Regions from separate parts of the Homo sapiens genome. Here all the other regions are linked to region 1. Evidence: promoter capture Hi-C in 16 types of primary human blood cells and fetal thymus (Javierre and others, 2016). All regions are on one chromosome and are shown on one strand. Each heading gives the region's core, a stretch centred on a gene start or on the middle of the fragment in contact. The rest is flanking DNA. Distances are from core to core; before and after follow the strand shown.

Region 1 (3,621 bases), core at 829-3,328:
TCTACATGTTCCCCACAGTGCCATGTGGCCCTACTTCAATACAATACCTAGAATAGTATCGTGCAACCAAAAAGAACACAAACATGTTTGATTGCTGTGAGGTTTAGAGACTAAGTAGACTTTTGACATTTGACCCAAGAAAGGTACTCAATAAAATAGCATCTATATGATTATCACTGTTAAGGCCGTCAAAAATGCGTCAAAATTACTTCAATAGAAGATAAAATAGGTGCCACTTGATTTTTGTTTGAAAAATAACTGACAGTAGTTGATAGTAATATTTAATATATACTAGGTAATATAAATATTTTAAATATATTAACTAATTTTCCCTTTCAAGAAGCCTCAAAGGTAGGTACTAGTATTATTTTATAGATGAAGAAGCTGGGCACAGAAATTTTAAGTAACTTGCATAGGGTCATAAGAGTAAATAAATGCTGGAGCTAGGATTCAAATACACACAATCTAGTTGCAAAGTACGTGAACTTCTGCCAAGTTCTATAGCCTCTTCACCACTACTTCAAGTCGTCAACTCCTGAATTTTTAAAAATGTTCAGTGCCTCTACAAGCTCATATAATTTTAAGGGGTTATAAGCCCTGAAGTTAGGGGTCCCAAGGACCCTAAATTAAGTACCACTGCTTCAAACAGAAACTTAAATACTTTGTCCTTGCAGAATTAAAGAAACTTCTTCTTAAAACTCAGTTATAATAACAATATTAGGCTTAGAACAACTCAGTCTACCATTATCTTTTTGCCCTACTTTAAAAGTATAGAAAATGATAGCTAATATTTATTGAGAACCAGGTATTATTTTTGTATAACCTCATCTAATCCCTATACCTCTATGAGATAGGTACTTCTATGCTCCCCACTTTATAGATAGGGAAACTGAGGTCAGAGTATTTAAATAACTTGTTCAGTAGCAAGCAACAATAACAGAAAAAACCAGCTGGGATGTACATTCCACAACCTTTCTCTTTGCTACCACGTTATGTTATCTCTCAAGATGTTTTATATGCAGATGAGGGATTCTGAGTACCACCCCATGCTAATTAATTACATTACATAACGAATGGAAAAGCACTCTGTAAATGATCAAGGATCAGTTATTATTTACTAGGTATCAATCATTAGAAACTTTAAAAAATGATAGTGATATAAAGACAAATAACTTCCAGAGGGTTTCCTCTAAAAGTACCGAGCTGCCACAAACTTTCCAGTTTGGAAACTCTATGTACTGAGGTCTTGTTTTCTTCACTTACACCACCTCCAAATCTACTCTGCTGTAACACAGGGATGTCAGTATACATTATTTTTCCTTTTATGATGCAAAAGGAACAGATTATTTCCCTTTTCCTTTCAGTCTCCTCAGCCCCAGATTGCTGTCCCTTCATTCTAATTACGCCGCAGCAACAGAGGCTTGCAATGGTCAGGAGTTCTGATACCGACCAGTTCTTCAGCCTGATTCTTCTGGCCTTTAAAAGAAAAAAACCCTCCCAGAACGAAGGGAAAAGTAAAGCATTCGTGTTCAGCAGCCAGACCAGAATTCCCTTGAGTAAGAGATCTGCAACACCCAACATCAAACACTGCATTTTCTTTAAGCCCGTCCACGGTCGGCTCCTTCAAGTCCAGGCCTCCCTATCGGCCCCGCGATCCCTCCCAGCGCGAGCGGAAGGCCCCTCCGCCCGGACTCCCAGGTGGCGCAGCCCTCCAGGCCCCGAGGTCCCCCGGCCCAGCCCTCGCCGCCAGTCTTCGGGATGCCAGGCTACCTGCCAGCCTCTCCTCTCACTCGGCGCAGGACTCGGATCCGTATGCTACCGCGATCCTACCATCCGCCCAACGCCTAGCACCCAGAGGGCACTCGCTAACCAACCGCGGCGCGGAGAAAAGCCGTGCTGCGAGGACACCTTCCGCCTCGCCCACCCGAGTCCCAGGCGCTGAAGTCTCTCCATCTTCTTTTATTCCATCGCCCCCCGGCCCAGCCCGCTCAGGTGTATTCCGCTTCCTTCCCCGCCCACCCACCGTCCCCACCTGGAGGTGGTCCGCCGCCGCTCCGCACGCCACTGCTCTGCAAACTGTCCTAGCAGCTGGGCAGCCAGCAAGCGGGCCGGGAGGCTGGAGCGGCCAGCCAATCAGCGACCGGCGCCATAAGCTGATATGACGGCAGATCGCGCGAAGGGCCTGCGCGCAGCTCTCCGCGGTCACGTGGGCGCCGCGCGCTCGGCCACGCCCCCTTTGTCCTCTGACTAAGGGGAGGGCGGGCGCCCCATCCGAGTACCTTTGCGGTGGAGGATGCGGTTTCGGGTTTTGCGTTTGTTTCTTTGCTTTCTTTTTAAACTAGCTCTTGTGTCATTCATGGTGGTACCAGGCAGGTTTACGGTGTTTATACAAACATTCCTAGAACGGGTGCCCTGCGTTGAGGGAAATAGACGACACTTCCTTTGACGCGAATGTCTGGGTCGTTTTCTCCCTCAAGGGAGGAGGTGCAGATGTTCCCAAACAGGTGCTCAAGGTTTTAAGACGTAGTCCCCCCGATTTTCTAGCGCTGAATGGCTGGAGGCTCCGCGAGCCGGTGTATGTAGGGGTCTAAATGGTGACAAGATGAGGGTAAACATGGACAGAAACCTTTTCACGATACAAGTTGTTGAAAACCAAGGTTAACGCAGATCTAATTGGCTTTGATTTGCTACACATGAATCGAGCAGCTCCGATTTCCTGAAACAGAGCTGAGCAGAGGAGGGTGGCTTCACAGGCAGAAGAGGACGGAGGAAAGCAGAAATAAGGAACCAAAAGATCTGTCGTTTCAGAGTGACTTTCCTTAAACAGAGATTAAAACAGAGGGGACTGACTTGTGATACCAGCTCAGCAACTTCAAAGTGGCAAACTGGGCCACTTTACCTATTACATAAATAATATGGGGAATACATGACAGAAATGAGGGATTTTTAAGGGAAAAAAATAACATGATTCGATCTGCCTTCAAAAGACTTTTCCGGTAGTTAAACTTCAAATGTACATAGGATACTGGACAAAGTTCAAATGAATTTAAAATAGTGTAGGTGGTTTTTTTAAAAAAGACTCATTATATAAATAAAAATAAATTTTAAAAAGTTTTGAGTGTCTACTTCGTTTAACACATCGTACTGAACACCGGGAATGGAAAGAGATGTTACAATAATGACAAAGACATGGTTCCCAACCTTAAAAAGCTTATGTGCTGTGGGAGAAATGGGCATGTATAAATAACTATGTTGCTTATTACAAGGACAGGAAATAAACAGTAATTGGTGGTATAGGCTGAGCACAGAGACAAAATGGCTATTCTGATGAGGGAAATTAGGGAAGGAACATTGTTTTGCCCAATGAAATGATTTGAATGGACACTTTAAAATGTTATTGAGCATAGATGATAAAACATTTATTAAACGAATAAAAGCTCAAAAGTGAAATGTTATAAGCAAACATCAAATATCCTGAATCTCTAGAATTTTATTGTTGAATATGCCTTAGCTATTACAAGTGGTCTTTATTCTTGGTGACTTAGGGATTCCCAAGAAATTTGCAATCACTCCTGACAACTCAAAGTAGTAATAAGTTAACCTCAAGAGAACAATCTTGTT
Region 2 (3,621 bases), core at 721-3,220, 390 kb before region 1:
TTGGGATAAAGTGTCCAGTGGACTCCCATTAGAATCCTTGGAAAAAGCCAGAGGTATCATACTTGTAGCACACTTCGAAATGTGCTGTAAGACTACAGTAACCAAAACAGCATAGTACTGGTAAGAAAAAGGATACCTAGACCAATGGAACAGAATAAAGAACCCAGAAATAAAGCCACACGCTTACAGCTATCTGATCTTCGGCAAAGTCAACAAAAATAAGCAGTGGGGAAAAGACTGACTATTCAATAAATGGGCTGGGATAGCTGGCTAGCCATATGCAGAAGAATGAAACTGGACCCCTACCTTTTACCGTATGCAAAAAATAACTCAAGATGAATCAAAGATTTAAATGTAAGACCTGAAACTATAAGACTCCTGGAAGAAAACCTAGGAAACACCATTCTGGACATCAGTTTTGGGAAATAATTTACGACTAAGTCCTCAGAAGCAATTGCAACAGAAAGTAAAATTGACAAGTGAGAGCTAATTAAACTGAAGAGCTTCTGCACAGCAAAAGAAACTATCAACAGAGTAAACAAACAACCTACAGAATGAGAGAAAATATCCACTACTATGCATCCTACAAAGGTCTAATGTCCAGAATCCATAAGGAAATTAAACAACTCAGCAAGCAAAAAACAAAGAGCCCCATTAAAAAGTGGACAAAAGACATGAACAGACACTTCTCAAAAGAAGACATATGAGCAACAAACAAGTTTATATAAAAGTTCTCAACATCACTAATCATCAGAGAAATACAAAACAAAACCACAAGGTGATACCATCTCACACCAGTCAGAATGGCTATTATTAAAAAGTCAAAAAACAACAGATGCTAGTGAGGCTGTGGAGAAAAGAGAATACTTAGACACTATTGGTAGGAATGTAAATTAGTTCAGCAACTGTGGAAAGCAGTTTGGAGGTTTCTCAAAGAACTTAGAACAGAATGACCATTCAACCTAGCAATCCCATTACTGGGTATATACCCAAAGGAAAATAACTTGTTCTTTCCAGAAGGACATTGGCACTCCCATGTTTATTGTGTGCTATTCACAATAGCAAAGACATGGAATCAACCTAAGTTCCCATCTACAGTGGACTGGATAAAGAAAATGTGGGACATATACACTACAGAATACTATGTGGCCATAAAAAAGAATGAAATTGGCCAGGCATGGTGGCTCATGCCTGTAATCTCAGCACTTTGGGAGGCTGAGCGGGGTGGATCGCCTGAGGTCAGGAGTTCGAGACCAGACTGGCCAACATAGTGAAACCCCGTCTGTACTAAAAATACAAAAAATTATCTGGGCGTGGTGGCAGGTAACTGTAATCCCATCTACTTGGGAGGTTGAGGCAGGAGAATCGCTTAAACCTGGGAGGTGGAGGTTGCAGTGAGCCAAGATAGCGCCATTACACTCCGATCCGGCAACAAGAGCGAAACTCCATCTCGAAGAAAAAAGAAAAAAAACAAGAATGAAATCATGTCCTCTGCAGCAGCATGAATGCAGCTGGAGGCCATTATCCTAAGCAAATTAACACAGGAAAAGAAAACCAGATAGTACATGTTCTTAGTTATAAGTGGGAGCTAAACACAGGTACTCATGGACATAAAGATGGCAACAATATACACTGGGGACTATTAGAGGGTGGAAGGAGATGGGGAGGGTTGAAAAACCAACTATTGGCTACCATGCTCATTACCTGAGTGATAGGATCAATCGTTCCCCAAACCTCAGCATCACACAATATACTCATGTAGCAAGCCTGCACATGTACCCTCTGAATCTAAAATAGAAGTTGAAATCATTTTTTAAAAAAAGAAATTGAAAAAAGAATCCTTGGGACTCGATTCCTGGCAAGAAGGCTATAGGGATGCAGAAGAAACCACTGGAAAACAAAAGTTATAATATAAAAGTGTAAAAATAGATTTGGAGGGCATCAGAAGGTCCAAGTGGGTAGGAAACGGCCTTTTTGTCTGGAGTTTACTCCACTTCTATCCCCTTTGTAGACAGGAAACCTGGGGCCCTGCTCGATGATTATAAACAGAAAACTGTAAACTTGGACAAAGGTGGGGCAAATCAAAATCTACTGAAATAGGACACCTGGGATTATTCAAATGGCACTGGGCTGGTTAGTTAGAAGACTTGAGCAAATCCCAGAAGTGCTCCAAGTCCCATGACGTCTCTACAAAGTGCGTAAGGATGCCTTCCACCTCTGATGTTCTCTGAATCTGTTTCTGAACCCTCTGCACATTGTGTGCATGCTACAGGCACTTAAACACTCACTAAATGGGCAACCCAGTGTATTCCACACAGGACAGCAAGATGACTCTAGTATAATATTCTCCTGACTCTCACTCAAAATACTAAGATCCATTCTATGGGAAGGACCAGGTGCATTGTGGGAATGGACAGAGCTGAGCTCAAGGAGCCCTGTCATGTGAGGAGCTCAGAGCCTTGGCACCCCTGGTACTGCTCTCCTGCTTCCACCTCCACCTGGGTCCTGAGCTCCAGAATTGGGTTCCTTTCAGTCCATTTGTGTCCCCTCAATCTGTGGAATTTCTCAAATGCTCCAGATTTTCTGGCTAGTTTAACAGCCTTATGGAAGGGTTGAAATCTCGAATTTAAACTGTCAATGCTGCTTAAGGTCTAACAAAGCCTCAACGATCTAGCTGAATCCAGGTCCCTTATAAGGATGCAACTGAATGCCGTAGTCATTTGGTTTTTGCAAATTCTTCTCTTTCTATTGATGTTAAGAAACTTTGACATAATACTAGAAGGCAACTAAACACGCAATGAAAATAAGGCAACGCAATTTCTTGGTAAACCCTTGAATTTTAATTCCTATCAGTCATGAAAGCTCAAACCAGTGATTCTGGGAGGTAAGTGTTCTAACATAACCTGTGGGCACCATGCTGGGAGAAACTATCAAGACACCCACCTTCCTCATGTGTCTTCACCCTGATTTCTGATGTCAAATTGCACAACTTTCTTGAATCCCTGAGCCTCAGTTTCACCATCTGCAAAAAGAAGACAGTAACCTATTTTCTACCTAGCAACCTATCAATATAATTTATTGTATCAATAATATAATATTAGAGTAACTTGAATTGAGTTAAAAATTTTGTAAGGACTGTGATAAGTTTACAGAGGGATTTTTTTCTCCTTTATCTTTCAAAAGTTTTGAAATGTAATCATATTTCACTCCCCAAAATTAATTTATGACAAATTTTAACATAAAGTAACTTGAAATTGATGAATGCCATATGAGGGCAAATCACAGCCAAACCTTAATTATTCATTTGCCACTGGATTCACAAAGTCTATTATCTACAATTAATTTTTAAAATCCAAATGGAATTTCCCTGGTCACTAAGAATACTTTAGAGACAATCTCAATCAATCAGTCAATCACAAAATATGAATACATGTATTGATTTTGAACTGTGAATTCGGCACTGCAGAAAACATCTGAGAAGGAAGGAGAGGACCTTCAGGTCCTGACCTGAAGGAATCCCAGTGATGTTGGAAAAACAAGACTAAAAATTATCACAAAATGCAAATGGCAAAACTGTGGCCATGACTAAGGGCCAAACCGTAGGGAACAAATTCTAGAGAT
Region 3 (3,621 bases), core at 542-3,041, 370 kb before region 1:
CACAGAAACTGTTAGTGTTCATCAAATATTTCATGTATGCTATATTAAAGTTCAGCCACAATATGGGGAGCTCCCATCTGTATGGGTCCCTGAGTGACTATGTGGAGCAGACAATTCCTTACACCCTTGTTGGATGTATTATCTGAGCAAAATTAACCCTTTGTTGTGTTAAAGCTTTAAAATCTGGGGACTGCTGTTACTTCAGCACAGCTTAGCTTATCCTGCCTATTTTGACACCCTACATTTTCGACACCTGATATAGGAAATTTAGCACATAGCAAGTATTTAATATTCAAATGCCAAATACATCATATACAGAACTACCTTTTTTTTTTTTTTTTTTGAGATGGAGTCTTGCTCTGTCACCCAGGCTGGAGTGCAGTGGCACAATCTCAGCTCACTGCAACCTCCACCTCCCTGGTTCAAACAATTCCCCTGTCTCAGCCTCCTGAGTAGCTGAGATTACAGGTGCACGCCACCACATCCGGCTAATTTTTTTGCATTTTTAGTAGAGACGGGTTTTCATCGTGTTGGCCAGACTGGTCTCAAACTCCTGATCTCAGTCAATCTGCCCGCCTCGGCCTATCAAAGTGCATGGCATGAGCCACCATGCTTGGCCCAGAATTACTCTTTTTTATGAACCTGTCTAATCGTTTAGGTAGTTCAGTCCAACTTTAAGCATTTTGTTTTGACTCCTTACCTAGAATGCACACCCTTCGTGGGTTTTCTCTGTTGTCCAAAGCACCTAGCATAGTACTGGACATGTGCTTAGTAAGACCTGTTGATTAATGGGTCAGCCTCAGTCCACCAGTTCACCAGAAGTCAACTCCAACTGAGACTACAAATTGGTAGTAAAGGCTCTGATGATAGCTGATTCCTCTGGAGCTACTTCTGGCTCCACACTCTATCAGGGTATAGTGGGATGATGGCCATGCAGTGAGGTAGCTGTTCCAGCTCCAGAGACGACAACTCTTTGGTGGACATAGAGGACAAAAAAGATCAAACTGGTTTTCAGTATTTTTTTTTACCCATACCATATTAGTCAAGATTTTGCTAGAATTTTGCTAGATAGTTTATATTATAAACATTCATTTTCTAAGCAGGAATGTATAATGAATATATTTTTCTGAAAAACACTAGATTTTTTTTTTCCTCCTTTGCCCACTCTGGAGATTCTGATATCCACCAGATGGGTGGATATCGAGTTGAAGCCCTGTTCACAGTGCAGCTTTCTACCATCTTCATCCAAGATGGATGAGCCAGGTAATACATATGATGCCTCCCACCCTCAAAGAACTTCTCCCTGTGGTGGGAATCTGAAGACCCAGGTTCAAGTCCCAGATCTACCTAATGGATAGCTCATTCCTTCTACATCTCAGTTGCCATCTATAAAAAGGTAAAAGGTGAGGAGGAGCAAGCTATTCCACTCTCCTTCCTTTCCCTGTAGGATTATTCTAGTAAAGATTAAATAAGATACAATGGGAAGTTCTTGGAAATAAAAAGACATGAACATTTTCCTTTGGGCTTTTAAATAAAATCCCCTGTCCCCTAGAATGCTCACATGCACTTACCTGTTGGTGGCTGTCACAAGCATCTGGGGCATATGAGATAGTTTATATAATCCAATCCACCTTCAAGCATCTTATTTTGACTATTTACCTAGAATGCACACCCTTCATTGGTTTTCTCTGTTGTCCAAAGGACCTAGCATAGGAGCTCTTATCTGAGCACCTGATGAGAAGACGACACTCAGAAATCTCGGTATCATGCTCACCTTCACTGTCAGGGTCATCAAAGTTGACACAGAGGGAAAGATTAAAATATCTATAGAATAAAAGCAACTCAATTCAGAAGAAGGGTAAATTTTGGAGTTTCTCTACTGACTGGAGTTTAAGAAAAAAGCTAAGAGGGTTAAGAGGAGGCAAATTTCGTCAGTTCAGCTGGAGAAAGCTCTCCATTCTGAGGTCATGCTCTGAACCAAGATGCCGTCAATCCAAGGTCACCCACCCTCAAAAAGGAAAAACACTGAAATTCTTTTAGAGCAGGGAGAGTTCAAGAATAGGCACTATCTGGGCTGAGATGAACTGACTGAGGTAGGCTCTTTTCCAGGATGTCAGAACATTGTACAAAGAGAGCATCCAGGGATTCAGGTAATTACCGTCACCCTGACTTGGAAAGTCCACCAATGATAGACTATGCCACGGGTCCCAGCATCTCTGAACTGCCCTCTTAATTGGTTTTATCCTGTGCCAGTTACTCTCAAAGGCTCTAAATGCCAGTTTGCCCTGTGGGGCATTGCCCCTGAGTGGACAGAACTAGCTCAGAGCTGCCAGGGCCACCTGGATGTCAGGCTGCTCTGAACCACTACATGGGTAAGGCAGGATATCCCAAAAGGAAAGGGCTGGCTGAAGGCGACCAAAGGAAATCTCAGCCAGGAAAGATAGGCTTTGTCAGGTCACTGCTTAAAATGCAACAGGGAAGCAAAGCTGGTCTCTTGAGCCAGGTGGGAGCCAAGGCTGGTAATTAAGAGGTAAGAGACACTGGAGCCAGCGGGCTGGGAATTAACTAAGCAGATGGTGGAGGTGGAAGTGCAGTTGCTCCCCAGCCAAGTTCCCTTGTGCACAAATGACATTGTTGGGTACGTGTCCTACCAAGGGCTCCAGCTCTTTGACACAGCAGTGCGACTGTCCTGCCTCCTGCTACATGGAGACACATTATACCATACCAGCTCCTACACTGTTCCGAAAGCATGCTAAAACAATGCTATCTCAGCCCCCGAAGCCTCAGCTTTAAGGGTATTTTATTCTCCTGCTTGGCCTTTGAGATTCCTTCCTTCCTTCCTTCCTTCCTTCCTTCCTTCTTTCTTTCTTTCTTTCTTTTTCTTTCCTTCTTTCAATTCATTAGACAATGAGCAAGCACCAATTATGTGCCCGGCTTTGTGCTGTGCCCTGCCGATTCTAAGATAAATGTGATTCCTGTACAGTCTGAACTTGAGCTGGACTTGGAAAATGGGTCTAGTCAGTGAGACAGACAAGTAAATATGTGCATGAAGGTGACATCGTTTCTAGGAGTGAAACTTTACATGGCTGACCAGTGCTCCCTTAACACTGTCTGCTCTGGGCTTCAAGGATAGCACAGTCACCTGGTTTTCCTCCTAACTTAGTGACGCCTCCGTCTCAGCCTGCTTTGCTGGATCTTGTTCCTTCATGTCTCAGAAAGTCCTGTGGCTTATTCCCTGGTCCTCTCTTCCCCTGAGTGACATCCAACACAGTGACTTTAAGGACCATCTATGTGCTGACAATTTTCAAATTTATAGTTCCAGCCCAGTTCTCTTCTGAGCTCAGTTCCCTACATCCAACTTCTCTCTGACATCTATGTTTGGATACCTAATAGACATCTCAAGCTTATTTACTGTTTACATGTTGACTTTCCTCTTCTTCAGGTCTGCTCCCACATCCACCAGCAAATCCTCACTCCCTCAGTACATGGCAGGACACCCATCCAATCACTCAAAGAGAAAATCCAAGATAAAGAAAATCAATCAATAAATCAATAAGTCCAAAACAAAATCCAGCATCTGCTACTTCTCACCATCTCTTATGCCCTAACTCTCACAGCAGT
Region 4 (3,621 bases), core at 556-3,055, 350 kb before region 1:
CTCTTTAATTTCTCCAGAAACTACTAAATCCTCAGGATTCTCTTTTTCTCCTACTTGAACTTGATGCTATATCCTGAAGACTACAGACATAAAAGATTCCAATAGAAGGCTCAGCATCTATTCACATAGAATCGGAATTTTACATCCTCTAGCTCTGGCATCATAATCTCTTTGTCTTTATTTTTTTTATTTTTTTTATTTTTTGAGACTGAGTCTTGCTCTGTTGCCCAGGCTCTGGAGTGCAGTGGTGTGATCTCAGCTCACTGCAAGCTCCGCCTCCTGGGTTCATGCTGTTCTCCTGACTGGCATCATAATCTCTATAATATTCTTGTGCTGCAATTTAATACTAAGGAAAACCATCTTGCCCATCTAACACATTCCCATTCTGAGTTGAAATGAAGAAAGTATTCACCACCCAACACTAAATACCTCCAAAGCTCCTTTCATCTCTTTCTCTTCCTCCCTCCCCATCACAGAAACCGGCAAACCAGTCCCACCACTGAGCTTTTAGCAGACTGTAGACCATCCACTTCTCCGCAGAGTCAACACCTCCTTGTTTGCAAGTCAGGTTCCTTTTGCCCTAAACGTGCTTAATGTGACAAACATGTTTGCGACCCATCTTCTGTTTATGTGCCTATGTTATGCTGTCTCATGTCTACTTCTGTTCTCTACTTTCGTTGATGGGATGTGTTGATAGCTATTCCCCCAATCTTGTGAGCAGCAAAACACTGAATAGTAAAAACCTGGTGAGCCAGAGATAACGAGGTGACGGGAATGAATCCTCCTGGGAGCTCCATTAATGTGAAAGATGACTCAAAGCACTTGATTGTAATGATAAGAGAGGGAGACACACAGCTGGCGGTGCAGCAACAACCCCCTGGTGCCACTGGTCTTCCGAGTAAGTCTGTATTAAAACTGCTCACAGGGACAAAGGGGGAAGAAGATCCTGCTCGGCTTCTATCTGAATTCAGATTTGTCTTTATAGTTGGAACTAAGACCTAAGAGAAGTGACAGAGGTCTGGAACACTCAGCTTCTATCTGAATTCAGATTTGTCTTTACAGTTGGAACTAAGACCTAAGAGAAGTGACAGAGGTCTGGAACACTCCCACACACGGACTTAGTCATTGTCACAGCAGAACTGTAACAGATGCCATCACTCATACAGAACAAAGCAATAAAAGGACACATACCAAATGTTAACAGCCATTATCTCTGGGATTACCTGGAAATCTTATTTCCTTCTGGCTGCTTTTAGTTTCCAAAAATGTCTACAATGGATACAAATTGTCAGGCCTCCGAGCTCAAGCTAAGCCATCGCATCCCCAATGACTTGCACATATACACCCAGATGGCCTGAAGTAACTGAAGAATCACAAAAGAAGTGAAAATGCCCTGCCCCGCCTTAACTGATGACATTCCACCACAAAAGAAGTGAAAATGGCCAGTCCTTGCCTTAACTGATGACATTACCTTGTAAAAGTCCTTTTCCTGGCTCATCCTGGCTCAAAAAGCTCCCCCACTGAGCACCTTGCCACCCCCACTCCTGCCCACCAGAGAACAACCCCCCTTTGACTGTAATTTTCCTTTATCTACCCAAATCCTATAAAACGGCCCCACCCTTATCTCCCTTCACTGACTCTCTTTTTGCACTCAGCCCAACTGCACCCAGGTGAAATAAACAGCCTTGTTGCTCACACAAAGCCTGTTTGGTGGTCTCTTCACACAGACGTGAGTGAAATTTGGTGCTGTGACTCGGATCGGGGGACCTCCCTTGGGAGATCAATCCCCTGTCCTCCTGCTCTTTGCTCCATGAAAAAGATCCACCTACAAACTCGGGTCCTCAGACCCACCAGTCCAACGAACACCTCACCAATTTTAAATCAGGTAAGCGGCCTCTTCTTACTCTCTTCTCCAACCTCTCTCACTATCCCTCAACCACTTTCTCCTTTCCACTCTTCAATCTCTCCCTTCTCTTAATTTCAATTCCTTTCATTTTCTGGTAGAGACAAAGGGGACATCTTTTATCCGTGGACCCAAAACTCCGGCGCCGGTCACGGACTGGGAAGGCAGCCTTCCCTTGGTGTTTAATCATTGCAGGGACACCTCTCTGATTTTTATTCACCCACGTTTCAGAGGTGTCAGACCAGGCAGGGACGCCTGCCTTGGTCCTTCACCCTTAGCGGCAAGTCCCGCTTTTCTGGGGGAGGGGCAAGTACCCCAACCTCGTATCTCTGTGCCCCAATCCCTTATTTCCATGCCCCGACCTCTCTCTGTGGCCCAACCTCTTATCTCTGTGCCCCAACCCCTCATTTCCACGCCCCAACCCCTTTCCCGCTTTCCTGGAAGGTAAGAACCCCTGAACCCTTTCCCTCCGTGTCTCTATTCTCTCTTTTCTCTGGGCTTGCCTCCTTCACTATAGGCAACCTTCCACCCTCCATTCCTCCTTCTCCCTTAGCCTGTGTTCTCAAGAACTTAAAACCTCTTCAACTCACACCTGGCCTTAAAACCTTATCTTCTTCTGCAATGCCGCTTGACCCCAATATAAACTCAACAGTGGTTCCAAATAGCCAGAAAATGGCACTTTCAATTTTTCCATCCTACAAGATCTAAATAATTCTTGTCGTAAAATGGGCAAATGGTCTGAGGTGCCTGACGTCCAGGCATTCTTTTATACATTGTTCCCTCCATAGTCTCTGTTCCCAATGCAACTCGTCCCAGATCCTCCTCCTTTCCCTCCCACCTGTCCCCTCAGTCCCAACCCCAAGCGTCACTGAGTCTTCCTAATCTTCCTTTTCTACAGACCCATCTGACCTCTCCCCTCCTCGCCAGGCCGAGCCAGGTCCCAATTCTTCCTCAGTCTCTGCTCAGTCTCTGCTCCCCCACCCTATAATCCTTTTATCACCTCCCCTCCTCACACCCGGTCCAGCTTACAGTTTCGTTCTGCGACTAGCCTTCCCCCACCTGCCCAGCAATTTCCTCCTAAAAAGGTGGCTGGATCTAAAGGCATAGTCAAGGTTAATGCTCCTTTTTCTTTATCTGACCTTTCCCAAATCAGTTAGCGTTTAGGCTCTTTTTCATCAAATATGAAAAACCCAGCCCAGTTCATGGCTCGTTCGGCAGCAACCCTGAGACGCTTTACAGCCCTAGACCCTGAAAGGTCAGAAGGCCGTCTTATTCTCAATATACATTTTATTTTATTACCCAATCTGCTCCCAACATGAAAGAAAGCTCCAAAAATTAAATTCTGGCCCTCAAACCCCACAACAGGACTTAATTAACTTCACCTTCAAGGTGTACAATAAGAGCAGAGGCAGCCAAGTAACAATGTATTTCTGAATTGCAATTCCTTGCCTCCACTGTGAGACAAACCCCAGCCACATCTCCAGCACACAAGAACTCCAAACGCCTGAACCGCAGCTGCCAGGGGTCCCTCCAGAACCTCCTCCCCCAGGAGCTTGCTACAAGTGCCAGAAATCTGGCCACTGGGCCAAGGAATGCCCACAGCCCGGGATTCCTCCTAAGCCGTGTCCCATCTGTGTGGGACCCCACTGAAAATCGGACTGTTCAACTCACCTGACAGCCACTTCCAGGGCCCCTGGAACTTTGGCCCAAGGCTCTCT
Region 5 (3,621 bases), core at 600-3,099, 330 kb before region 1:
ATGTTGGCCAAGAGCCCTTCTGCCTGACAACCTTGGTTCCATAAAGGTGGCCGGGAGGGGTCTGCACAGGAATTTTTCCCAAAGCATATTTCACAGGTTGCCAATTAGTTTTGCCTAAAAATGGGGCTCTGTTGAGGAAATACTAGGTCAACAAGAGTTGGGCTGGTTTTTGTAGGACCTTCTTAGAACCTCTAATATGTTAAGATTCTCCCAAGGGAAGTGGCAGGCAGTGTTTCCCTCTCTTAGTGGGGGGTGCCAAGGATAAATATTGCACAAGATCTCACCCTGAGAAACACTATGAGACGGAACATTTAACAACTCTAACACAAGATTTTGGCTTGAGCACTGGTTAGTTCTTGGCTGAGAGTAAATGGAACTAAAAAAGACCAGTGGCAAAACATTTGTTGAAATCCTGGCCAAACTACTATAATGTAAGCAGACTTTCTGTATGAACGGAAGGGTCCTCTCTTCCATCACTAGCATGGCCCAGCATAAGACATAAGACAGAGATCCCAGGACAAATTCCAGTCCTAAGCTTATGCTGAGAGCTAAGATGAAGCCGGGGCGGGGCAGAGGTGTGCACTGTAAAATCAGTTATATGATTTTACATGTAAAATCCATGACAAGGAGATGATCTACTGGCTTGGAGATCCACAGGATATATTAGCATGTTAGAGGTGCTGAGAAGTCCCACAAAAAACAAATGAAACTCTTGTGAACCTAGAGTTTCCCTTTTTAAACAAAGCCTTGCCTTTCTTGCACTTTATGTTCAGAATCCGGTCCCCCTGTAATCTCAGCTTCCTGTACCATGTTCAGCTCAGGAAGTATTTGTTAAATACATCACTACCTGACCAAACTGATATATAAATGATTTTCTTTTAAGCTGAGAATATCTTCCATGTGTTTTAGAAAGACACATGGTCATGAAACCATATGACATTCTTGCTATTTCCCTAGAACTGAAGACAGAAACGGGCAGCAATCGCAACTCACCAGACCCCAGCTCATCGTACAGCAGGATGGCAGGCTCCCCACAGATCTGGTTGCCAAAAAGGCATCTTGCTTGGACGGTGAACGTGTAATTATGACCCATCTTCAGGTTGGAAATTTTAAAGAAATTGTCAGTAGTATTCCCAAGGTAAGCTGTGATATTCATGGCACTATCAAACATGTGTATCTCATAGCCCTGAAAACAAACACAAGAGATTGCTCAGGAAGTCGAATATGGAAACTGACAGCCTCTATTACTGGTTCCATCTTTATGTGAGCTCCTCACTGTGGGCTGCTACAGACGCGAAAGCGCCCTGGGTTTCTCCTTGTTCTTTTTACATTACCACTGAGATACTGGATTCAGAAAATGAAAATTTTTCTCATCTCCAATATCTCAAATAACTGCCACACCACCCCCCCACAACAAGCTATATCGTGGAAATGAAAACTGTGGCCCTCAGGAAAGTCATTTTACCAAAGCCACACTCAGAGATTTGCTCAGCAGTCTGCCTGTCTCAAGCAATATTAAATGCCACCAAGAATCTGAACAGTTTGCCATAATGGAATTTGACTAATAATAAATCCAGGTCGCAGTGGACTCCAGCAATGGGGTGAGAAAGGAGAACTTGCAATTAGAAAAGACAAGACATTTGTCCCCAGAACAATATGTAGGAATGACCTTGTCGGCTCACTTCCTGTCTCCCTGCTCTCTAGCTCCTTCTGAGCCGATCTCAGCCCCCCAACAACCTGGCCTTGAAATCAGAAGCACTGAAGCCAGCTCAGGCCCCTGTTCACTGGAGGAGAGGATGAAATGTCTTCCTAGTTACAGCCCTGGACTCTGGTGCTGGAAAAAGCCATCCTGGGGACAGCCCTGGCCCAGGATACTAGCTGGGATGAGGGCTGACAACCTGACTTCTCTGCTGATCCCCAACTATTCCAGTGTCAAAGCTACTGACACTCTCCACCATCCCCCTGAAAAGACTCCATCACTTTTCTCTAGCCACATATTGGGCCCCCTTGCATAATCACAGTCTCTTGATCCCAATACCACTGACCCATCTATTCTTGATGTGGTTTGGCTGTGTCCCCACCCAAATCTCATCTTGAATTCTAGCTCCTATAATTCTCCTGTGCTGTGGGAGGGACCCGGTGAGAGATCACTGGATCATGGGTGCGGCTTCCCCTATACTGTTCTCATGGTAGTGAATAGTCTCACAAGATCTGATGGTTTTATAAGAAGTTTCCCCTTTCACTTGGCTCTCATTCTCTCTTTGTCTGCCGCCATGTAAGATGTGGCTTTGCTCCTCTTTGCCTTCCACCATGATGGAGAGGCCTCCGCAGCCATGTGGAACTGTGAGTCAATTAAACCTCCTTCCTTTATAAATTACCCAGGCTTGGGTATGTCTTTATTGGCACTGTGGAAACGGACTAATACAATTCTTTGAACTCCTTGTCAGGGGAAGGGAAGAAGGACATGCTATGCCTATGCCAGACCCTCCACTAGGAACGAAATACTAACCTAGAATCTTAACCTAAGAGCCGGGCTCCAGCCACCCAGGAAGGATCCCCTAATGGCGACTGGCTGCCGAACTGGGATTCCCAATACCTGCCTGGAATCTCATCCCCGCATTCTTTCCTATAAGCCAGCAGTTATTACCTTCCACCTAATAGATATCTGGTGTCGATCATTTGTAAAATACACAAAGGTTATAAAGAAAATAATTGAGATTACACAACATCAACCACCCATACGTTATTTAACCCATCCTCTTCTGTTCGGCATCTCGGCTGTTTCCTCTTTCTTGCTGTCATAAATACTACACACAAATTCTTCATGCACGTTGCTGCTTTAGAGTAAAATCCTACAACTGCTGGATCAATGGGTGTGAACACTTTCAACGTTTTTGATAGGTATTACCCAAGAACCTTACTTGAGTTTGAACCAATTCATATTCCCAGAACGTTTACTTCCCCAACTACTATTCATACCAGTTATACTCTTCCCTGCAAATCTTTACCAATTTAACATGAGAGGGTTACCTCTTTGTTATTTAGATTACCGGTGAGGTTGAACTTTTCTCCTTTTGCTTACTGCTGCTGGAATTTTCCGCTTTGTTACATGTCCCTTCTTCAAAATTAGAATATTTCCATTTTGAACTTACTTGAAAGCTTTCCTTCTATTTAAGGATATTAGCCATTTAGATGTCATAGTTACAAGAGTTATGAGAATTCTCACAGAGTGTGTGGTGAGAATTTTCCAATTTTAATTTCACTTTGCTTTGGTATTGCACGGTGACTATTTAGAACCCATGGCTCTTTGCCTATGCTGCATCTCCAGGTAGCCATAGTTGATTCATCACATTCCTATTTAGCAAAGGCTTTGCTGTCTCTGGGGCCAACCCAGCTTTACTCAAGAATCTGTCCACCCTTGGGTGGTAAATCTACTCCCAGGTCTCACTCCTCTTCCCCTGTCTTTTGCTGTGAATACCATATTGGCCTACCAATAGCAAAACCAAACAAAATCAAGGTGTTCTTCATAAGTTAGCACAGTATCTTCAAGTGCCTCCTGCTCCCTGTAATTTATCTGGGAAGAGAGTGCTGAGATGCCAGGCTGAGAGTGCAGCTCAACTC
Region 6 (3,621 bases), core at 299-2,798, 310 kb before region 1:
AAGAACAGATGTTTGACAACTCTGGCAAGACTATAAAGCTTAGCCACCATACTTCTGTACATGTGAGGCACACATATGTTCCCACATTCCTGAGAATACTCAGAAAGACCCTCACAAACCCCGACCTGAGGTCTTACCCATGCCATAAAAATTAACTGAAACACTTACATCCCTCTGGGGTCCTCAGGGTCACAAAGTCATTGGTGTTGTGTGCCTTGCTGAGACACTGAACCTGTACTTTAACCTGATACGTGGTATCTGGTTTCAAGACTTTTAATACAGTGTTTGTCTTATTGCTGTGGGTCTCCAGAGTCTTCCATATGCTCTCTCCAACCACCCTGGCCCAAAAAAAAATAAAGATATTGTCACACTGGAGCAGCATGGGGGGCTGAGATGTCTGACTCCGTTAATAGCATGGTGCATGCCACTAGAGAGTTTACAGAACATCCTGGGGCAATGAAGACATCATTTTCATCTCCCATGACAAAGATGGGACCTACCTGTAGTAGACATTATATACACAAGAAGCAGAGGGCATTTTTTTGGGCCTCATCCAGGTCAAAGTCACATCCCCAGAGAAGTCAGCTGTCCACTGAAGATTCTGTACTTTGTACACAGTCAACTCATCTAGAGAGATAAAGGAGAAAAAGACAAACAAAGTTACATCTTGGCTGGGCGTGGTGGCTCACGCCTGTAATCCTAGCACTTTGGGAGGCCGAGGCGGGCAAATTGCCTGAGCTCAGGAGTTCGAGACTGGCCTGGGCAATGTGGCTAAACCCCGTCTCTACTAAAAATACAAAAAAAAAAAAGTTACATCTTACAAATCCTTAGATTTCAAAGGACTCCTGCTTTTAAACAGAACTACCATGATCTAGATTATCAGGAGGCCATAATCATTATCTGAAAAGAAATCTCAGAAAATGTAGTTGAAACCTCCCTATACAATCCCTCCTAGGGTCTCCTACTTTTCCGGTCGTGATATTTTCCCTCGAATTTCATCTTCCTCCTGCCTATGACAATTTAAGCCTATTTCTCCATAGAGAATGCTACAAGTCCAAGGACCATGTCATAGGGTCCATTACTAGACACTCCAGAGATAAGAACTGAGTTAATCCCACCAGCAGATTGAGACTGTGAGAGCCATGGTGTATGGGCATGAGGTGGGAAGTCCATAAAAAAAAAAAAATCCAAGACTAGCATTTCACTAACAGGGAGGAGACAGCTGCATGTTGTATCAGAGTCTGGCCAAGGCTCACCTCACTTGGGGCTCCAAAACTAGGCACAAATCTGTTTTATCCTTAGATTGAGCAACAGTTCAAAAGGGTCCTAGCTCAAGGTCTACACAGGAGGGGCCCTGGGGTAAGCGAGCCTCCCAGCCCAGCCCAGCCCAGCCCAGCCCGTGGACCGGCACTCACCACTGCAGGCCTTTTCATCGCTCTCGTCCGAGCAGTCCAGGAAGCCGTCGCAGCGCTCCGAGAGCACAATGCAGGCCTCCCCGTCCTCGCACTGGAACTCCCTGCTCATGCAAGTCAAGGTGCTGTGTGTGGCTGAAACACAGAGAGGCTTCTTAAGTCCACGGGGAGGGGCCGTATGGTACTAAAGGCTGGGCCCAAGTTTATTCCCATTTAGGCAAAGTACTAATTGGCTTCTGCTTCAAAACACACCTCTGGAATGACCAGTGGTGGAATCTATACCGGCACTAAGGTGCCATCTCATCTAACATTAACAACTGGAATCTGCATTCGGGAAGAGTGAGCACTTTGGAGTCAAACAAACTAGAGTTTAAATCCTAGATCTGCATGAGCTTGAGCAAACAGCTTAATATCACCTGAGTTCAGTTGCCCTATAAAAAATGGAAGTAACAATTCCATCACTATCATGTCTGCAAGGATCTAATGAGATCACACACCTGGAACACTGCCTGGCTCCTGGCCGGCATCAACAAACTGTAGCTATTACTCTATAGTACTATTAATTATTCTGCTACTATTATTAGTTTGCAATCTAGAAAGAGGAGCTGATTTCTGGTTTGAGTAACAGAAATAACAATGAGATGAATCCCAACAATATTAAGAGGCATGCATACTTTATGTAGTATTTAAAGTTGTTTGGCTTTTCAAAGTACTTGAACAGAAAATGAAATAATGCAAATAATGAGCACTGGTAAGTTAAGGGTTATGCAACTGTATGTCTAGGCTATTGACCAAAATGTGATGTGCTCTCCAGTTCTGAAAGTAGATTAAAACTGCACGGGAGGCTCCAAAAAGAAAGCAATGACCGTATAATTGCAAATGCTCCTGAAAAGAGAAAAGGTGAGAATGGCTGTAGACAGCAAATCTGCTATGCAGGCTGTGTACCTGGGTGGTACAAATCTGCTATGTAGCTGGTTGAGCCCAGGAACAGTAACTTGAGGCCTTCCTTATACAGATTCACACCTGCCTGCCCAGTCCTGGACAAGGAAGGGCTACATCAGAAATCCAATCCCACCAGTGATGAGGGTCTAAAATCAATCTTGCTCCTCCAAGTCAAAGACGTCCACATCCTAATCCCTGGAACCTGTAATATGTTACCTTATGTAACAAAGCAACTTTGCAGGTGTGATTAGATTAAGGACCCATAGGTAGGAGAGTTCAGCCTGGATTATCCAGGTGGGCTCTGTCTAATGACATGGGTCCTTAAAAGCAGAGACCCTTTTCTGGTTGTGGTGAGAGACAGAGAGAATACAGAAGACAGGTGAGAGACATGCAACATCACTGGCTTTGAAAATGGGGAAATTATAACAGACAAAAGGAGGCTGAACATGAGTGGCTCCATTCTGCTCCCCGCACCCTGCCCCCTGCCCATGGTGACATCTTGTAGGTTAACGGCCTCTGCCTATCTCTGCACGTAGGCCAAGCTAACTATGGAAGGAATTTTGTTTATAGTTTAATTTTAAAGCAAGGATGATAATAGTCCCTTCCTGAAACTAAGCCCTGAGGAAATAAAGAGAGTGTACACACAAGTAACAAAGTTATGTTAAAGGTGATATGAGCATTGTGACCTGAGCAAGGAAGCTTCATACGCCCCACTTCAGACCCAGGCATGTGGTCATGGGTCACCTCTTGACCTCGACCCCCTCCCTCTTCTCCTTCCTCCTAACATAAACAACCACACTTTGAGATATAGGTAGAGAAACTGGATAATGTTCCCATGAGAGCAACCAGGATGGTCAAGAGGAATGGATAAAGGATCCAGGGATATTTTCCTAGAGGTGAAAAGATACAAGGATGGGGGAGGTGGTGAGAAGACATGCAGACCACTCTGACAAGTGTTCTCCACTGATGAGTTTTCATGAGAAAGAAGAATTAAGACTTCTTTGCACGAGTCTCTAGGATGGAGGTACAGACTTCAGTTCACTACTTATTCAAAAACAATCCTGATAAAAAATTGTCAATAGAAGGGAACTATCAAAACCACTTATGAGGCTTTTCACAAACTATAATCCCCCATTCTCCAGGAAGATCATTGCATTTCAGAATTCTATTATATACTGAGCTGAAATTGGTTTGCCATGGTGGGGGGAAGCTCATGACAAATAAACGTGTATTCAAGAATTAGAGAAAGGTTTGAGAACCACTACTG
Region 7 (3,621 bases), core at 681-3,180, 290 kb before region 1:
TTTGGCACTCAGAATCCATTAAACATCTTTAAAAACTATACTTATTTCTGATAAGAGGAATAAATGTATCATGCATGTTACATGAGTTTCTGCCCCAGTAACAGCCATCGCCTGGAATACTTTTGATTTATTCGTGTCACAAGTCTGACAGCCTTTCAAAACATCCCTCACCGACACCTTGCTCACATTCATAAAATATAAAGTTGCCTAAACCAATTGCCATACTAATCTAGTTATTATTCAGCCTCTGCATTTCATTTTTAATTGAAAACCATTTCAGAGTGCTAGTGAAGTTTCCAAATGACAATTCTGGGAGGCATGGCTGAGATCTCCAGATTCTATCACAGAAGCTGAGCTCAGAAAGAGTAATCAGTTTGCATTCAAGTGGCCAGGTATGGCTGGAATACATAACGCATTATCTTTTTCTAGATTTTTCTATCTTCTTAGTAACTTATGAGCTCTGATTTTGAGTGCCCGGTAAATACTGCATGCTTAATACATATTTTTTTTTTAATTACAAGGATGGAAGAGATGGACTTTAATCCAGACTGAAGAATTTAGGGAAGAAAAAGAATCCTCTGCATGGTAGGATTCATTGTAACTATAAGAATGGTGAAGTTCGTGTGGTAAACAATCGTGGAAATCTAACATCAGTTTCTAATATAGGTCAATATCCTACAACTTAATCTTTGACTCAGGCAGAACTTTCCTGATTCATCAAGACCTGCTGGAATGCCTGATTAAAAGCATTAACCAAACATGAGCAGAGTAGAATGGATGAAATAAGTAGTATAACAGGGAAAGTACTGCCTTATTTCTTACAAAGCGCTAGACTATAAAGAAACGCATGAGGCGTGGTAGCTCATACCTGTAATCCCAGCACTTTGGGAGGCCGAGGAGGGTGGATCACTTTGAGATCAGGAGTTAGAGACAAGCTTGGCCAACATGGTAAAAACTCATCTCTACTAAAAACACAAAACTAGCCAGGCCTGCTGGCACACATCTGTAGTCCCAGCTACTCGTGAGGCTGAGGCAGGAGAATTGCTTGAACCTGGGAGACAGAGGATGCAGTAAGCCAAGATCGCACCACTGTACTCTAGCCTGGGCGACAGAGACCCCGTCTCAAAAAAAAAAAAAAAAGTGTATGAGAAGGGGACCAGGTGCAGTAGCTCATACCTGTAATCCCAGCACTTTGAGAGGACAAGGTAAGAGGATCACTTGCACCCAGGAGTTCGAGACCAGCCTGGGCAATATGGCAAAACCCCATCTCTACAAAACATACAAAAATTAGCCAGGCATGATGGCACATGTCTGTAGCCCCAGCTACTCAAGAGGCTAAGGCGGGAAGATGGATTGAGCCCAGGAGGTCAAGGCTACAGTGAGCTGTCATCGCGCCACTACCCTCCAGCCTGGGAGACAAGACAAAACCCTGTCTCAAAAAAAAAAAAAAAAAAGTAAGTGCATGAGGAAAAAAATGACTATCATCACAATTTGAATGATTAATGACAGAGAAGAAAAAACATAAAGTATTAAAAAAAGAACACTGAAAAATAAAAGGCAGATTTGAAAAAGAACCAAACAGAAATTCTAGATACAAAACGTATACTCATGGAAATAAAAAAAACAGCTCCATGTATATGTGAAACAGCAGATTAGAGTTAGCTGAAAAGAGAATTGTTGAACTGGAAGATAAATCTAGAGAAGTCGCTCAGATTCTAGCACAGAGTCATAAAGAGACAGCAAATATAAAAACAGGAGGGAAGAGAACAACAGAATGAGGCAGTCCAACGAATGGCTTAGAGTAACTGCTGAAGACAAGACCAGAGAAAGTAGCCAACAGGTATAGTTGAAGAGTTAGTAGCTGTAACTTCCCAGAGTTGTCTTTCGAAAAATTCTCAGATCTTAAAACAAACAAAGTCTCAAGCAGGATAAGTAAAAATAATTCCACACCTAGGTAGGTAAAACTAAGAGCAATATAACCTAAAGGTAATTAGAAAGAAAAGAGTGTCTGTTATTATTTGAACAGACAACTAAGAGCAGAATTCAAATCAACACAAAAGAGGCCAGGAAGAAATGGAAGAATTCTATGAAAATACGGAAAATTACTAAAAGCCTAGAAACCCAGACCCATTTGAATTCAAGATTGAGGATTAAATATATGTCTATAATAACAAAACCTTGAAAGAGTTTGCCACTCATAGACTCCTGCTGCAAAACCCCTGAAGGATGTACATTGGTGGGAGGCATTAGCAACAAGACACAGAGGTAGTTGGTAATACCTGTGTGCCTATGCAGAAGTGTGGTTATTTAAAAAGAGTAACAGTGAAGTTTAGGATTTTTTAATATAAAACTAAAATACTAAATATTTAGTGTTTAAAATACTAGGTATTTTAGTACTGGAACTGTAGGCAGAGATTTGGATCAAATTCTAAAGTCCCCATATATCTAGGAGAGAGGAAAGATGTTAAGAATACAAATAAAATGTCTACAGGTAATTGTCCTAAAAAAACACACAGAAATCAGATGTACACGTTTAAAAACAATAGCGGTGGGTTGAGGTGAATAAAGAAACAGCCTCGTGGAAAGTAAAAGTGGCGAAAAGAAAAGCAAAGAGGACGCACAGCAGAGTGCGCATCCAAGCTGATGCCAACAGGAGGTCAGCTACCTTGACCTATTTCTTTTGGCACTGTACGCAGCTTAATTTAGTAGGTCTGAAAATGAGGTGTCATGCCACACATCACCATGAGCTCACATCTGACCTCCAACTATTTTGAGATGACAGAGAAGGTGGATCATCCTTGAAAGGTTTGGAAGAACAGCCCTTGGAACAAGGCTGCAGCTGAGCAGCAAGGACTCTTAAGTTTTCTCCAGTTTGCCTTGCCGGAAGAAAATCAGAGAAAAAACCAGGAGTTTATACAAGCTTGCCTATAGAAATGAAGTAATCAATTCATTCTGTAAGACCGGCACATGCTGCTGAAATGCAAATTTGAGTAAGGCAGTTGTGTTAACAAGATGTTCAATCATACTGCAATTTACAAACTGCAATGTCCAAGTGCACCCTTCTAATCTATTAACTAAGTATCCATCCAAACCCAAAGCTTCCAAACAGCATTCACGTGTTTCCTGTGCCAACGGCAGCTCCTTTATGGGCCTCGGTTCTTCCTCCTTCTGCAGACCATGCTTTAATATACAGAGAGAAGCATTTTCCTGCAGTCTTTTCAGAAGCAGAGGTGCAGACACAGAGGCTGCGCCAGAAAGAACATGGGTGGACTTTACAAGCGAACAGGATTTGGTAACACCACAGAATATCCCATGTGATGTATATGGCATTTGAAGAGATCTATTCACTCCCTTAAGGCCATATGAGGTCACCTCCAAACTAAAAGGAATGGAGGGAAGCAGTTGCATAAAATTACTCAATCCACAAAGGTTCTCTGAGCACATACTCTATTATGTGCTGGACACTGCAGAGAATACAAAAGAGTAAAAGAAGAGGTCATCTCTCTCCGTGGGGAAGCAAGTCTAAGCCAGAGCATAATGCACAGTTATTTATCCTTAGGTCTGAGATATAACAGATGTACCTTCTTTGTATTTCCTTTTACCAATTAGTAGGCGTGCTTT

Evidence for each region. The method cuts DNA at HindIII sites, captures the fragments that hold promoters and counts their contacts. A CHiCAGO score of 5 or more calls a contact.
Region 2: a contact is called between a fragment that was not itself captured here and the fragment with the promoter of SC5D in region 1, in 1 of 17 cell types (neutrophils). The highest score is 7.6, in neutrophils.
Region 3: a fragment that was not itself captured here is called in contact with the fragment with the promoter of SC5D in region 1 in 1 of 17 cell types (neutrophils); the score reaches 12.0 in neutrophils.
Region 4: a fragment that was not itself captured here is called in contact with the fragment with the promoter of SC5D in region 1 in 4 of 17 cell types (neutrophils, total CD4 T cells, total CD8 T cells and 1 more); the score reaches 17.6 in neutrophils.
Region 5: a contact is called between a fragment that was not itself captured here and the fragment with the promoter of SC5D in region 1, in 10 of 17 cell types (non-activated CD4 T cells, neutrophils, naive CD4 T cells and 7 more). The highest score is 21.3, in non-activated CD4 T cells.
Region 6: a fragment that was not itself captured here is called in contact with the fragment with the promoter of SC5D in region 1 in 14 of 17 cell types (non-activated CD4 T cells, total CD4 T cells, naive CD4 T cells and 11 more); the score reaches 30.4 in non-activated CD4 T cells.
Region 7: a fragment that was not itself captured here is called in contact with the fragment with the promoter of SC5D in region 1 in 10 of 17 cell types (neutrophils, non-activated CD4 T cells, activated CD4 T cells and 7 more); the score reaches 14.6 in neutrophils.

Annotation. Positions count from the first base shown.
Region 1 is chr11:121,291,228-121,294,848 of GRCh38, reverse strand. SC5D (sterol-C5-desaturase) reads right to left here and starts at 2,078. Exons shown (of 5, transcript NM_006918.5): 1 at 2,033-2,078. RefSeq lists a silencer at 2,067-2,116 and an enhancer at 2,287-2,336. The HindIII fragment of the contact is 7,130 bases long and covers 1-3,212 here.
Region 2 is chr11:121,684,210-121,687,830 of GRCh38, reverse strand. No RefSeq gene overlaps it. Among named protein-coding and RNA genes, the nearest start is that of SORL1-AS1, 230 kb to the right of the region's middle. The HindIII fragment of the contact is 4,552 bases long and covers 1-3,621 here.
Region 3 is chr11:121,664,294-121,667,914 of GRCh38, reverse strand. No RefSeq gene overlaps it. Among named protein-coding and RNA genes, the nearest start is that of SORL1-AS1, 210 kb to the right of the region's middle. The HindIII fragment of the contact is 3,229 bases long and covers 177-3,405 here.
Region 4 is chr11:121,641,226-121,644,846 of GRCh38, reverse strand. No RefSeq gene overlaps it. Among named protein-coding and RNA genes, the nearest start is that of SORL1-AS1, 190 kb to the right of the region's middle. RefSeq lists an enhancer at 36-719. The HindIII fragment of the contact is 5,004 bases long and covers 1-3,621 here.
Region 5 is chr11:121,622,650-121,626,270 of GRCh38, reverse strand. SORL1 (sortilin related receptor 1) reads right to left here. Exons shown (of 48, transcript NM_003105.6): 46 at 994-1,186. Among named protein-coding and RNA genes, the nearest start is that of SORL1-AS1, 170 kb to the right of the region's middle. The HindIII fragment of the contact is 2,624 bases long and covers 538-3,161 here.
Region 6 is chr11:121,602,119-121,605,739 of GRCh38, reverse strand. SORL1 (sortilin related receptor 1) reads right to left here. Exons shown (of 48, transcript NM_003105.6): 33 at 1,416-1,547; 34 at 501-627; 35 at 169-338. Among named protein-coding and RNA genes, the nearest start is that of SORL1-AS1, 150 kb to the right of the region's middle. The HindIII fragment of the contact is 3,015 bases long and covers 41-3,055 here.
Region 7 is chr11:121,578,438-121,582,058 of GRCh38, reverse strand. The region is part of intron 25 of SORL1 (sortilin related receptor 1); the gene reads right to left. Among named protein-coding and RNA genes, the nearest start is that of SORL1-AS1, 130 kb to the right of the region's middle. The HindIII fragment of the contact is 1,985 bases long and covers 938-2,922 here.